3 separate regions of the Homo sapiens genome follow, and regions 1 and 2 are each linked to region 3. Evidence: promoter capture Hi-C in 16 types of primary human blood cells and fetal thymus (Javierre and others, 2016). All regions are on one chromosome and are shown on one strand. Each heading gives the region's core, a stretch centred on a gene start or on the middle of the fragment in contact. The rest is flanking DNA. Distances are from core to core; before and after follow the strand shown. Region 1 holds the start of RCL1 (RNA terminal phosphate cyclase like 1). Region 2 holds the start of AK3 (adenylate kinase 3). Region 3 holds the start of ERMP1 (endoplasmic reticulum metallopeptidase 1).

Evidence for each region. Contacts are between HindIII fragments. The CHiCAGO score rates a contact against its expected background, and 5 or more counts as called.
Region 1: the fragment with the promoter of RCL1 here is called in contact with the fragment with the promoter of ERMP1 in region 3 in 4 of 17 cell types (naive B cells, total B cells, monocytes and 1 more); the score reaches 8.3 in naive B cells.
Region 2: a contact is called between the fragment with the promoter of AK3 here and the fragment with the promoter of ERMP1 in region 3, in 1 of 17 cell types (monocytes). The highest score is 5.6, in monocytes.

Annotation. Positions count from the first base shown.
Region 1 is chr9:4,790,764-4,795,164 of GRCh38, forward strand. RCL1 (RNA terminal phosphate cyclase like 1) reads left to right here and starts at 2,181. Exons shown (of 9, transcript NM_005772.5): 1 at 2,181-2,464. The coding sequence starts at 2,329. RefSeq lists enhancers at 1,438-1,487, 2,308-2,357, 2,432-2,931 and a silencer at 1,868-2,227. The HindIII fragment of the contact is 3,785 bases long and covers 1-3,288 here.
Region 2 is chr9:4,739,952-4,742,451 of GRCh38, forward strand. AK3 (adenylate kinase 3) reads right to left here and starts at 1,251. Exons shown (of 5, transcript NM_016282.4): 1 at 986-1,251. The coding sequence starts at 1,136. RefSeq lists silencers at 781-920, 1,151-1,640. The HindIII fragment of the contact is 10,519 bases long and covers 1-2,133 here.
Region 3 is chr9:5,829,959-5,834,719 of GRCh38, forward strand. It overlaps ERMP1 (endoplasmic reticulum metallopeptidase 1), which reads right to left and starts at 3,159. Exons shown (of 15, transcript NM_024896.3): 1 at 2,732-3,159; 2 at 769-1,070. The coding sequence starts at 3,069. RefSeq lists silencers at 2,726-2,945, 3,026-3,245. The HindIII fragment of the contact is 2,395 bases long and covers 1,978-4,372 here.

The DNA.
Region 1 (4,401 bases), core at 931-3,430, 1.0 Mb before region 3:
ATGAAACTGGAGATCATTATGTTAAGTGAAATAAGCCAGGCACAGAAAGAAAAACATCACATGTTCTCACCTATTTGTGGGATCAAACAATCAAAACAATTTAACTCATGGAAATAGAGAGTAGAAGGATGGTTACTAGAGACTGGAAAACATAGAGGGGGTGGGGATGTTGGGGGGCAGGTGGGGATAATAAATGTGTACAAAAATTAGAAAGAATAAGATCTACTATTTGATAGCACAACAAGGTGTCTGTAGTCAACAATAATTTAATTTTCATTTAAAAATAACTAAAACAGTATAATTGTTTTGTTTGTATAATAACACAAAGAATAAAATGCATGAGGGGATGAGTACCCTATCCTTCAGGATGTGATTATCACACATTGCATGCCTGTATCAAAACTTCTCCCGTACCTCATATATACATGTACCATCTACCTACAAAAATTAAAAATTAAAAAAATTATATGGAACCACAAAAGACCCAGAATAGCCAAACCTGTCCTAAGCAAAAAGAACAAAACTGGAGGAATCACATTACCTGACTTCAAATTATACTACAGAGCTAGAGTAAACAAAATGGCATGGTACTGGCATAAAAACAGACACATAGATCAGTAGAACAGAGCGGAGAACGCAGAGATAAATCCACACAGCTACGGTAAACTCATTTTCGACAAAGTTGCCAAGAACATACTCTGGGGAAAGGACAGTCTCTTCAATAAATGATGCTGAGAAAATTGGATATCCATATGCAAAAGAGTGAAACTAGATCTCTATCTCTTGCCATTTACAAAAATCAAAGAAAAATGGATTAAAGGCTGGGAGTGGTGGCTCACACTTGTGAGGCCAAGGTGGGCCAATCGCTTGAGGTTAGAAGTTTGAGACCAGCCTGGGTAACATGGCAAAAACCCATGTCTATACAAAATACAAAAATTAGCTGAGCATGGTGGTGCACACCTGTAGTTCCAGCTAATGGGGAGGCTGAGGTTGGAGGATTACTAGAACTCGGGAAGTTGAGGCTGCAGTGAGTCATGAGCATGCCACTCCACTCCACTTTATAACACACTGTTGTCTACATAAGGCTAGCTACATCCCTTAATCTTAAACTCCCACCGCTTTCAGACACTATCATACCCCGCCCCCCTTCCCCCCGCGAACCCCCGTGCATTCTGGGACTCATGGTTTGGTGAGTGTTGTCCAGGAATGGCTACAAACCCACATTACTATGATATCGGACTTCTACTTGTGTAGTCATTTGTTAGTTAACTGTACATTTTGGAAGGTTTTTGAGTAGAGAAGTGAAATAATCCAACGTTTGGGAAGATTTTCTTGTGCAGGATTGGAGGAGGACGGGAAAGAGGGAAAAAGCATTGCGCGCGTGTGTGTGTGTGAAGTTATTACAACTATCTATCTTGAAGCATGCGAGGTAGGAGGGCCTGAATTGCCATGAAACGCAATGACGATAAACGAAGGGACCCGTGAGAAAGGGGCAAAGAGGTGTCTCAATAAAATAAGCAACGGCCTGCTGTGGGAGGATTCGGGTCTCAGTATAGGCTGCCACTGTCAGCTTTGCAATATTCCTCGAGCCTTTATCCATGAGTAGGACAGGATGGCTCTACCTTGCAGGGTTACAGCATGGAGCTGCGGGACTGCGCCGGCAGTGCGCTGAGCGGCATCCCTGCGATAGGGTGAGTGCACCAACCCTTGTTGTCTCTCTTAGTAAGAAAGAGGAGGGGTAGATAATAGCATCTTCACCCCAGTAGTTGCCGTAAGTAGTAATGCTAAGAATCCGGCACGTCGTAGGCATCAATCTCAGTCCGCCATCTCCCCTTGCTACCACGCCAGGAGGTACACAGAGGAGACTGCCCCGACTGGCAACTCCCGCGCCGGGGTTCCCTGGCCATCCTCCCGCGTTCCCTCCAGCCGCGCGCTGTTGCCAGGGCCCGGGCACCGCCCAGCTCCACTACGGACCAATGGCAGCGCGGCTTGGGCACCGCCCAGCTTCAGCGGAAGCCAATGGAGGCGCGGCGCGGGCACCGCCCTGATCCGGCGCGGGCCAATAGCGGCGTGGCCCGAAGCGGGGGCCGCCCCGGTCGGGCGGGGAGGCGGGGAGGTGGCCACTGGCTCCGCCCCGCTCCCCTCTGACCCGGTGTCTAGTCTCTCCGTCTTCCTGTTCCAAACCACGTGGACGCGTCTGGGCTGCTGGAGGCAGCCCGAGCCGCCGCCGTCGGTGTCGCCGCCACCACCACCATCGGAGTCACGAGTCCCGCGTCTGTCCGAAGTCGCCGCTCTCGGGCTGCTCACGTCTCTTCGGAGAGCGCGCACATGGCGACTCAGGCGCACTCCCTCAGCTACGCAGGGTGCAACTTCTTGCGCCAACGTCTGGTCCTGTCTACCCTGAGCGGGCGCCCCGTCAAAATCCGAAAGATTCGGGCCAGAGACGACAACCCGGGCCTCCGAGGTAACTTGGTGTGGGCGGCGCGCGGCGTGGGCGCGGGGGCTGAGGGGAGACCGAGCTGATGCCGTGGGGGCCCGCGCGGTGTTGGTTGGGCGGCTCGGCGTCCGGCGAGCGCGTCGGGGAGGGCAGGTGGCGCGTCGCCTCCAAAGCCGGAGGGGCAGGCACAGTGGGGGAGGCGGGGTCGGGGCCCGAGGGGAGCGCTCAGCTGCAAGCTGCGCTCGGCGTCTCCGGGGCGCTGGTAGTAAACAGCTGCACGTTTTCCAGCTTTACGTGTAGCAACAAATCCCTGGCGTCGCCCCTTCGCGTCCCTTCGGCCCCTCTTGCCCTCGCCATAAACCTCTCAAAGGAGAAAAACAGTTTGTTGGACCGAAATATGGTGAATGAGCCGGGGGAGAGACATTGGGAGAGAAAAGTACCTTGGGTTGGTTCTCTGCCCTGTCTCAAAGCAGTTCTCAGAAGCAGCTGCCCCCTTGGACACCGGCTGTTCCTGTCGCCATGATTTCTCGGCTGCCCTCACACTTGTCCTTGGGTGTGGATAAAGAAATTTTTAAAATTCTGTGTTTGTTTTCAGCCGTGACTGTGATTGATGTGCGCAGGACAGGAGCTTTGAGATAGACTTTTAACAGTCATGGGCCTAATTGCCTTGACTTTAGAAAAGGGGTCGGTGACAATCGCTAAACTGCAGGCTTCCAAGCTCACTTCTTGCTCTGCAATGGTAGGTTAAAAAGAAATAGGCCCATTTAAACCCACATCTCATTAAATGGCGCCGGTTTTCAACTGGCCTTGGTTTACACCTGGCCCCCTGGCATGAGATACATGCATTTAAAAGCTTCTGACTGGTGGTTATCCCAAGTTGGGCGAGTCAGTAGTCAGGTGAAAAAGGAAAAAACCTGTCTGTAAATTGAAAAAGAGTGTTTGTGGTTGGTCCTGGAAGCTTCCTGAGCGGCGCTGATGTGTTTCATTTTGCACTGGCTCTTGTTTTATCTGTCTGAATGCATTTTTTGGATAGTTAGATCTCTGCCTCTCTTGGGTGGTGATTGGCTGCACATAAAGGGCAGAAGATGCCATGCTATTGACGGAGATAGGTTAGGAAGGAAAGAAGCAGAATATCCCAGGTACAGTGGTGAGAAACCTAGTGATGGTAGGAAAAACTTGTGTTGGTGGTTCCTGTCCTCTCTCTACTGCTCAAAAACACTGAGAAAGTTAGGGAGAGACCACAAATGGTTTATGCCACGACTTTTCCGTCAACAAGTGTTCCACTTAGTTTGACCCTTGGGCAAAGTGTTTGCTTGATTGCTGTGTGGCATTCTCAGCCAGCTCTCCATCCACTTTACCCTCAGGTTAGCTCAGAGAACTTGCCACTAGCTGGATATGGTAAGAAGATGGACTTCTACTTTGTATAAAAGTAGGCATAACTTTTTTTTTTTTTTCCAGAGAAATGGAAGTATAGCCTGGAAACCTGGGTTCTCTAAAATGAATCTAGTTCTATTTAGAGTTTTTCTATTGACAGGTGGCCTCCAATTTAATATTTAATGTTCCAAAGTATGCTTCTCCTTCTCCCCCTCCACTGTATGTGAGCATCTCTTCAAAGCATCTCACACATATGAGCTCCCGTTTCTTCCAAGAACAGGGCTTGGCCACTTGGCACTTTCTTGAAAGGGTGTCAGACGCTGATACCTGAGGGAGGTAGAACTGCTTGGCAGGTGTGCTGGTATTTTATGGGGAACATTACTGTAGAGCATTATTTGCCTTACCCCGTTCATATACCAGGGGAAGAAAGAGACTCCTAGTTATTTGTACATCCTTGCGCTGGCTTCAGGGCCTCAGAAACCTTGTAGATGTTTGTCTGCTTAATTTCTTTCTTTTTTTTTGAGACAGAGTCTTACTCTGTCTCCCAGGCTGGAGTGCCGTGGTGCGATCTCGGCTCACTGCAACCTCCG
Region 2 (2,500 bases), core at 1-2,500, 1.1 Mb before region 3:
TTTCTAGAAGGAAAACTCTGTTCCCCTCCGAAGAATGGGACTGAGGTAGGGAACGAAAGAGGGCGTTGTTTTTTATGCTATGCACGTCTATCCTGTTTGCTATCCTTACAAAAAAAAAAAAAAAAAGAAGGAAAACAAAAGAAAAAGGCCTTGTGGAAGCATTATTTCTATGTAAATGGGTTTCAAAATGAGTTTCAAAACGGGTTCTATTTTGAAAAGTAAGGTCAACATTTTTTGAGAAAAAAACTCCTGCGATTGGCTTTTCAAAAACAACCCTCTTAAGAGAGAATTTACATACCACAAATTCACCCATTGTATAGTGTAGATTGTTAACTGCCTTTCGTGCCGAGCTGTAAGAATTTATTTGGCATGAGAAACAAAATATTTTATAGAACCATGCACAAGAATAGCCTTCGTGTCTACGAAATCTAAGGATATCAAAATGAGATAATTTTATGACTGCAACAAGGGTAAATAATACTTGGCCTTGGGAATATGGGGGAAAGGTCAGAACTACAAGATCTCATAGAGCTTAACCACACCAAAAAAGAAAGAGAAAAGAAAGAAACAAAGAAAACAAAACAGAACGAGCAGACTCTAGCAGGGCTAATGACAGTCTTCCAAAGGCACCAGCACGTTGAACAAGCTGCGGCTCAGCTCGATGGACCCCCAAGAGTGGCTGCCACTGGGAGGACTTGGGCCTCTGAAACAAAGCCCGGTGGTTTCCTTTCATCTCTGAACTTCGAGCTCGACCTAACTTTCCAGTCCCTTCCCCCACCGCCACCCCATAACCCGCCCGAAGCGGCCCACGGAGGCCGGAGGTTTTGGGGCGCAGTCGCTCAGCAGCCCGAGGTCTCTGTCCCGGGCGGCGGGAGGGAAATGCCGCGCCCGCAGCCAGGGACCCGCGTGCCCAGCTTCGGCCCCTCGCCCGCGAAGTCCGACCCGGGTGACAGCGCACGGCCGGCCCTGGGCCCAGAGCTCCCACCTGTGCCCCGCAGCATGTTGTCCCGGAGCAGGTCCCCGCTGGAGAGGTGCTTCAGCTCGAAGTGTGTAGTGATGCGCGACGACACGGTGCCCTTGCCCGAGCCCGGGGCCCCCATGATCACCGCTCGCAGCAGCCGCGCGGACGCCCCCATGGCCGCAGACTGAGGCCCGCACCGCGCGGGTACCAGGGCTTTGGCCTGGCCTGCGCGCTCACCCGCTCGGCAGCCTGCGCCGGCCGGCTAGCAGCGCCACTAGCAGGCGGCTACTGCGGTTCCCCGGCGTTCCCGGAAGTGAGCCGACAGCCCCTGGGGCCGCCCAGACAGCGCGGGACCCCGCTGTTGCGTCCGCCTCTCGGCTACCCCGGCGCACCCCCCGCCCCCGACCGAGCGCCTGTTCCCGCCCAGCCGCGCAAGCCGCGCAAGCCGCGCCCCCTCTGCGCTCGCTCGGCCGCCCAGCTCCCACCTGCGCCTCTCCGCGGCCCCTCTCCACCGGCCGCTGGGCCCGGATCCCTTCGGCGCCCCTCTGCACCCACCCCCACGCGCCCTCCACTCGGCTCAGATCTACCTCCGCGCCTCTCCGCGACCCCGGAACCCCGCGCCCTGTCCGGCCCATTCCCAGCCGGATAGACCGCGCTCCCCTCTGTCCGACCTTGGCAACTCCTGCGCGCCCCCTCCCCACCTCTAGTCGCCCCTCGGAGCCGCTTGGTTTCGGGATCCACCCGCATCCACCCCTCCAACAACCCTTTCGTAGCCCTCGCCCCTAGTCCATAGCAGGCGCTGCCCTACCCAGTCCTTGCCGGACACACCGCGACCCCTTTCGTGCTCCCTTGACAACCCTGGCCCCACCTCCACCTGGCGCCCACTCGAATCCGCCCCTCCCTTCTACCCCCCTGGACCGCCAGACCCCCCGCTTCTGCACCCACTCCCGCCTTCGCCCTTCCCTCCTTCCTCCTCCTCCTCTGCTGCCGAGCGCCCTCTCTTCCCACTCCCTCTCTGTGTAGAATCACAGGGAGTGACCTTGAGCCGAGAGGGCCTACCTCATTTTACAGGAGAGGAAATCCAGCTTCCATTGAGTGAGACTCTTTTATAAATAACGTAAAAGAGTGTGTGAAACTGTGGAGGCAGGCTGTTGTAGATAGGCGGTCGGAAAAGCTTTGAAGAGATGGCATGTGTGCTGAGTGCTTAATTAGAATATGGAAGAGAGAGACATGGGCCCTTCCTATGTCCAGTTTTAGGAAAAGGCCCTAAAACTGGAGGTTTGGCATGTTTCAAGAATGGAAACAGAGGACAAAAACGTTCGAGTGAGTATCATTTTGCCTGTAAAATGGGCATAGAGGAGTAGAATGGAGGAGTTAAAATAATGTAGTACTTAGTGCAATGCCAGCTACGGGGTCAATGTTCAATAATGGTTGTCCATTTATCATCATTGCTTTGTCCCGGACACTATGCTAAGGCAGAAAGAAGGCTCTCTGAAAATAAAACACAGTTACCATTCTCCTCAGAGGTCCAGAACTGAT
Region 3 (4,761 bases), core at 1,909-4,408:
TATATACTGCATCAGGCACTGTCCTAAATGCAAGTATTCTATTTTGCCAAATGATTTTCAGAGAAAGATTTACACATTAATTAGGTACTTTAACAGTATGGCACCCTCAGTGGAGCAAAATTCTCACTTTATAGGTCAACAGAATCTGCTAGAAGAGATATCCGCCAACCCGCAGCCCAGGACAGCTTTGAATGCAGCCCAATACAAATTTGTAAACTTTCTTAAAACATGAGTTTTTTTTTTTAAGCTCATCAGCCATCATTAGTGTATATTATGTGTGGCCCATGACAATTCTTCTTCTTCCAATGTGGCCCAGGGCAGCCAAAAGATTGGACACCCCTGCTCTAAAACCATGCAGTAACCCTTGAAGGCAGGGACTGTCCTTATGTGGTATCCCCAAAGCCTAGTATAACACCCAGCTGAGTAAAACACTTTCTAAGTGTCAGAACCTAACTCCAGGACACTAGGACACACACACTGTCTGGTAACATTGAGAAAGCTGCTTCAGTCTACCAGAAACATTCCAAGTCTTATCACTGGGCTGCTGGCATTAACACCAAAAAATAATATTAATAAAGCACTTAAGAGAAGACAGAATGGTTAGATCCTAAACTAAATGATACTATCCTAATTATCCTGCTTTCCATCACAAAGAAAAAAGGTTTGCCCAAGAAAATGGTCCCCACAATTGCCCAAGTAGCTTGGGGTTATGTTAATAAACTTTCTGGGCTGTGACAAGTTCCAAATGACTAAAAAACAGGTACATACCTGGTGAGTTTGCTACTGAGTCAAAATGACAATTAGCCAAGACAGCATGCTGGGCTCCATCTCTGGGTTCCAGCTTTACCACAACATTGGTGATGTTGTCATAATAGCTTGTAAAACCTCCCAAGAAATCAATGCTAAAAGAGCCTGTGGGCCGTTGTACATCTACTGAAATCTTATGAAGGCTGTTGCTTTGCACTTCAATCAGTTTAATCTGTTCCAAAAGGTAGTGCACGGTCAGAATTTCATTTTCTGGACTTCCTGTAGTCCTGGGGCCAATGGAGGTTATGTGTTCAAGATAATCCCTGGAAGTAACCAAAAGAATAACAAAGGTTTGTAGTTAAAATTGACACTTAGCGTGGGTAACTTTTCCACTACACACCCCTTCCTCCCCAAAAAAGCTTAGTTCTTTGCCTTATATAAAAGGGACCGCCTTTCATTATTTCAGACACCAAGTGAACATCACTTATAAAGTTCCATATTTTTATTGTTGCCTCCCACGAGTTGACCCCTTCAGTTTTCTCCACCATCCCACTCCCAACTTCTCCCCATATCAAACCAATACAAGGACTAGGGATGTATTCAAAACGTGTGACCACTGGCCAGGCACGGTGGCTCACGCCTGTAATCCCAGGACTTTCGGAGGCTGAGGTGGGTGGATTGCTTGAGCTCAGGAGTTTGAGACCAGCCTGGGCAACATGGTGAAACCCCATCTCTTCTAAAACTACAAAAACTAGCCAGATGTAGACTACTATCCGCCTGTAGTCCCAGCTACTCAAGAGGCTGAGGTGGGAGGACTGCTTGAACCTGGGAGGTGGAGGCTACAGACCCGAGATGGAGCCACTGCACTCCAGCCTGGGCGACAGAGCCAGGCCCTGTCTCAGAAAACAAACAAAAAAAGCTAAAGACTAAGCAGGATAGAATATAACTTCACTGTGCATACTCCTGAACGTTACAGATTCTGGGTTAATGACTTTAAGTAGCAGAAACCAATGAGCAAAAATAATCAAGTCAAGAGGTTAAATAAGGCGGGCGGGGGAAACTTTTGATGGACCTAGCCCTCCTAGCATACACCCAAGGTCTAATAACTTCAATTCAGGCCAAAACCAACTGTACCCCTAATGAAAACAAAACTGTTTTTGTCTTTTCACTGCATTCCAAGTGGGGAAAGCTGGAAGTGGGGGTGGGAGACGTTTCAGAAAGTCCTTAATAAGCTTGCAACACTTTGCATTCTAGCAAAAACTTTTTAGAACACAGTAGCTGTTGAAAACTTGACGCCAGCTTAACACTTCATGAGCTTTGACACACCTGGGTTACAATATCTTTGACTTAATCACCTTTCCTAGCATTCTTAAAGGTCTTAAAAAAAAAAAAAAAAGTCAAACCTTACACAGTCACTAATCCAAGGGGCCTAAAGATAAACTGCAGGGATCTGAGAATTTATCAGACTGCATACCAAATTTTGACTGGGCGGTGTTCCAGAAAGAGTTTCTATAGCCTTCAGATGTGGGGGCTGTAACCCTCAGAAAGTTAGAACAGTGCACTAGCGCCTTCCAAAACTCCCCGCCCCCAAAGCGAATTTATACAACAGTCTAGGTACACAAATTTCCATCTGGAAAGCAGAAGGGCTAAGCAAGGTAAAAAGGGGAAGCTGTTCCAGAATATGGGGAGACGACTCACAACCAACCATCTGCACGAAGGGCAGACAGTGGAAAGCAGGTTCAATCTACCTGGCAACCCCAATCTGCACCACGAGCTTAACCGGGGACAGGCAAGCCCCAAGTCCCGGCAATTCAGACCCCAGAAGAAGGACAAGCAAGGTCACCCCACCCCACGTGCAGCCTGGGAGGGGTCAGCGAGTCCCAGCGGTCCGGCAGGGGCGGGTGCACACAGGTGCGGTGCCCCGGAGCCTGCGCAGGAGCCGCAAACGGACGCGCGGGCCGTGCCAGGAGGGAGCGGCCGGTACCTGGCTTGGAGCGCGTCGAACTCCCCGCGGTGTCCAGCGGCCCCGCGTAGCACGAGCTGCTGCAGCGAGAGCTGCACCAGCGTCCGCAGCGCGATCAGGTAGAGCGCGAGCCCCAGCGCGGCGCGCACCTCAGACAGCCCGGTCCCCGCGCCCCTGCTCGCGCCGCCGCTACCCCCGGGGCTCCTCTTCCGCGTCCTCCCGCCGCCGCTGCACCCATCCACCAGAGGCTCCTGCGCTCGGGCCTCCCTCTCCGGCGGTGGCGCGGCCGCCGCTCCCTCTCGACGCTCTACTCCGACGCGGTGCCGCCTCACAGCAGCCGACTCAGAACCCCACTCCATGGCCACGAGCCTCAGCTGCCAGCCCAACCGCCCCAACCCGCGACAGCCCCGGCCGCCGCCGACGCCGCCGTCGCTGCCGCAGCGCCTCCTAGTGAGCGGACGGAAACTGCAGAGGGCCAAACTTCTTCTGATTGGCCCGTCCCGCCGCGCCAAGACCCAGCTTCTTTGGCAGTTCTCGGGTGCACACAGCTGCAGGGCCGACCCAGCAGCGGGTGGTGGATATGCCGTCTCCCGCAGGGCTTTTCCAGCCCTCTGTAGGACGGAGATTGCCAAATGTAAAGACACCTAAAAACCCAAAACGAGAAAAATGAGAGATCGCTTTTGAAAGAACACACAAGGCTCTTACAGTGCATCAGGCAGATGAAAAAAGCAATGACCTGGCTTTCGTAAGGAAGGAATATTAGAACATCAGGCTCCAAAAAAGTGGGTTCCTGGCTCTTAAAATTAGAAATAAGATTACGCAGAGGAGGCCCGGCCTATTGCTTTCACATGCATAATCTAATCAGATCTTCATAACTCAGCAACTTAATCTGTGCTATTACTGTCTCCATTTAACAGATAAAGAAAAATAATGGCTATTATTTATTGAATACCTGCTATGAGCTAAGCGCTAGGTCAAGTCCTTTAATACATCATCTTATTTAATTATCTTTAACAATACTTAAAAGGAAATATCTTTGTTCCCATTTTATAACCTGAGAAACGTAGAGATAACAGATGAAGAATGTAAATCTAATTTCATGGGCTCCCAAAACAGCATTCTGTTCCACTACTACATTAGCACTCTGCAAGTGAAGGTTCAGAAAGGCCATTCTTCACTTGACGACTCTCTGGGGCGGTTAAGCAGCAGAGCCTTGGTTTCAGTGCAGATCCTAGTGATTATCTAGTCTTCTTCCAGCTTGCCGGTACCCATGAGCCTCTCTGCTCCAAGGTTTTTTGTCCCTAGCTTGGAGTTGCTACATTAGCATGAGCATTAACCTAGAGACCAACTGGGAGAGCACACTGCCGGATTTTGACTTAGCACATATGTCAGATTTCATACAATGCCCTATAGTCCTGCTCTTGCCCACCTCTCAGGCTCCTCTGACACCAGGATGCTTCTTATTTCCAGCTCTCCAGCCACACTGGCCTCTTTCAAAGACTTCCTGCACGCATCTTTCCTTCTACAATAGGATCTTCTCACATGCTGTTTGAATTACCTGGAGTGTTCTTCTCTCTCCTCATTGTCTTTTTAACTCCTAGTTATCCTTTAAATCTCAGATTAAGTGGTACTTCCTCAAGCAAGAATCTCCTAATTTAATTAAGCTTGCTTCCCCTATTTGTAGGATCTCACAGCACCATGTTTGCATGTGACTATTTCATAACTTCCTCATTAGACTGTAAGCCCCACGAAGGCAGGAATCAGGTCTGGTTTTACTCACCATTTTATTCCTTGCTCTTAACACAAAGCATGACACATAGTATGTAGTCAATAGATATTTCTTGAGTGAATGAAAAAATGAAAACATACCACTTTTGTGGCAGCAAGCATAATTTTAGCTCTACAAGATCCCTTTCAGTCTGTAAGCACTATGAGACTAAAGACAGTGTCTATCTTATTTAATCATCACTGTATCCATAGTGCTTAGCTCTGGATAAGAGCCTAGCCCATGGTCATAACTATATGTATGTATATATGTGTGTGTGTGTGTG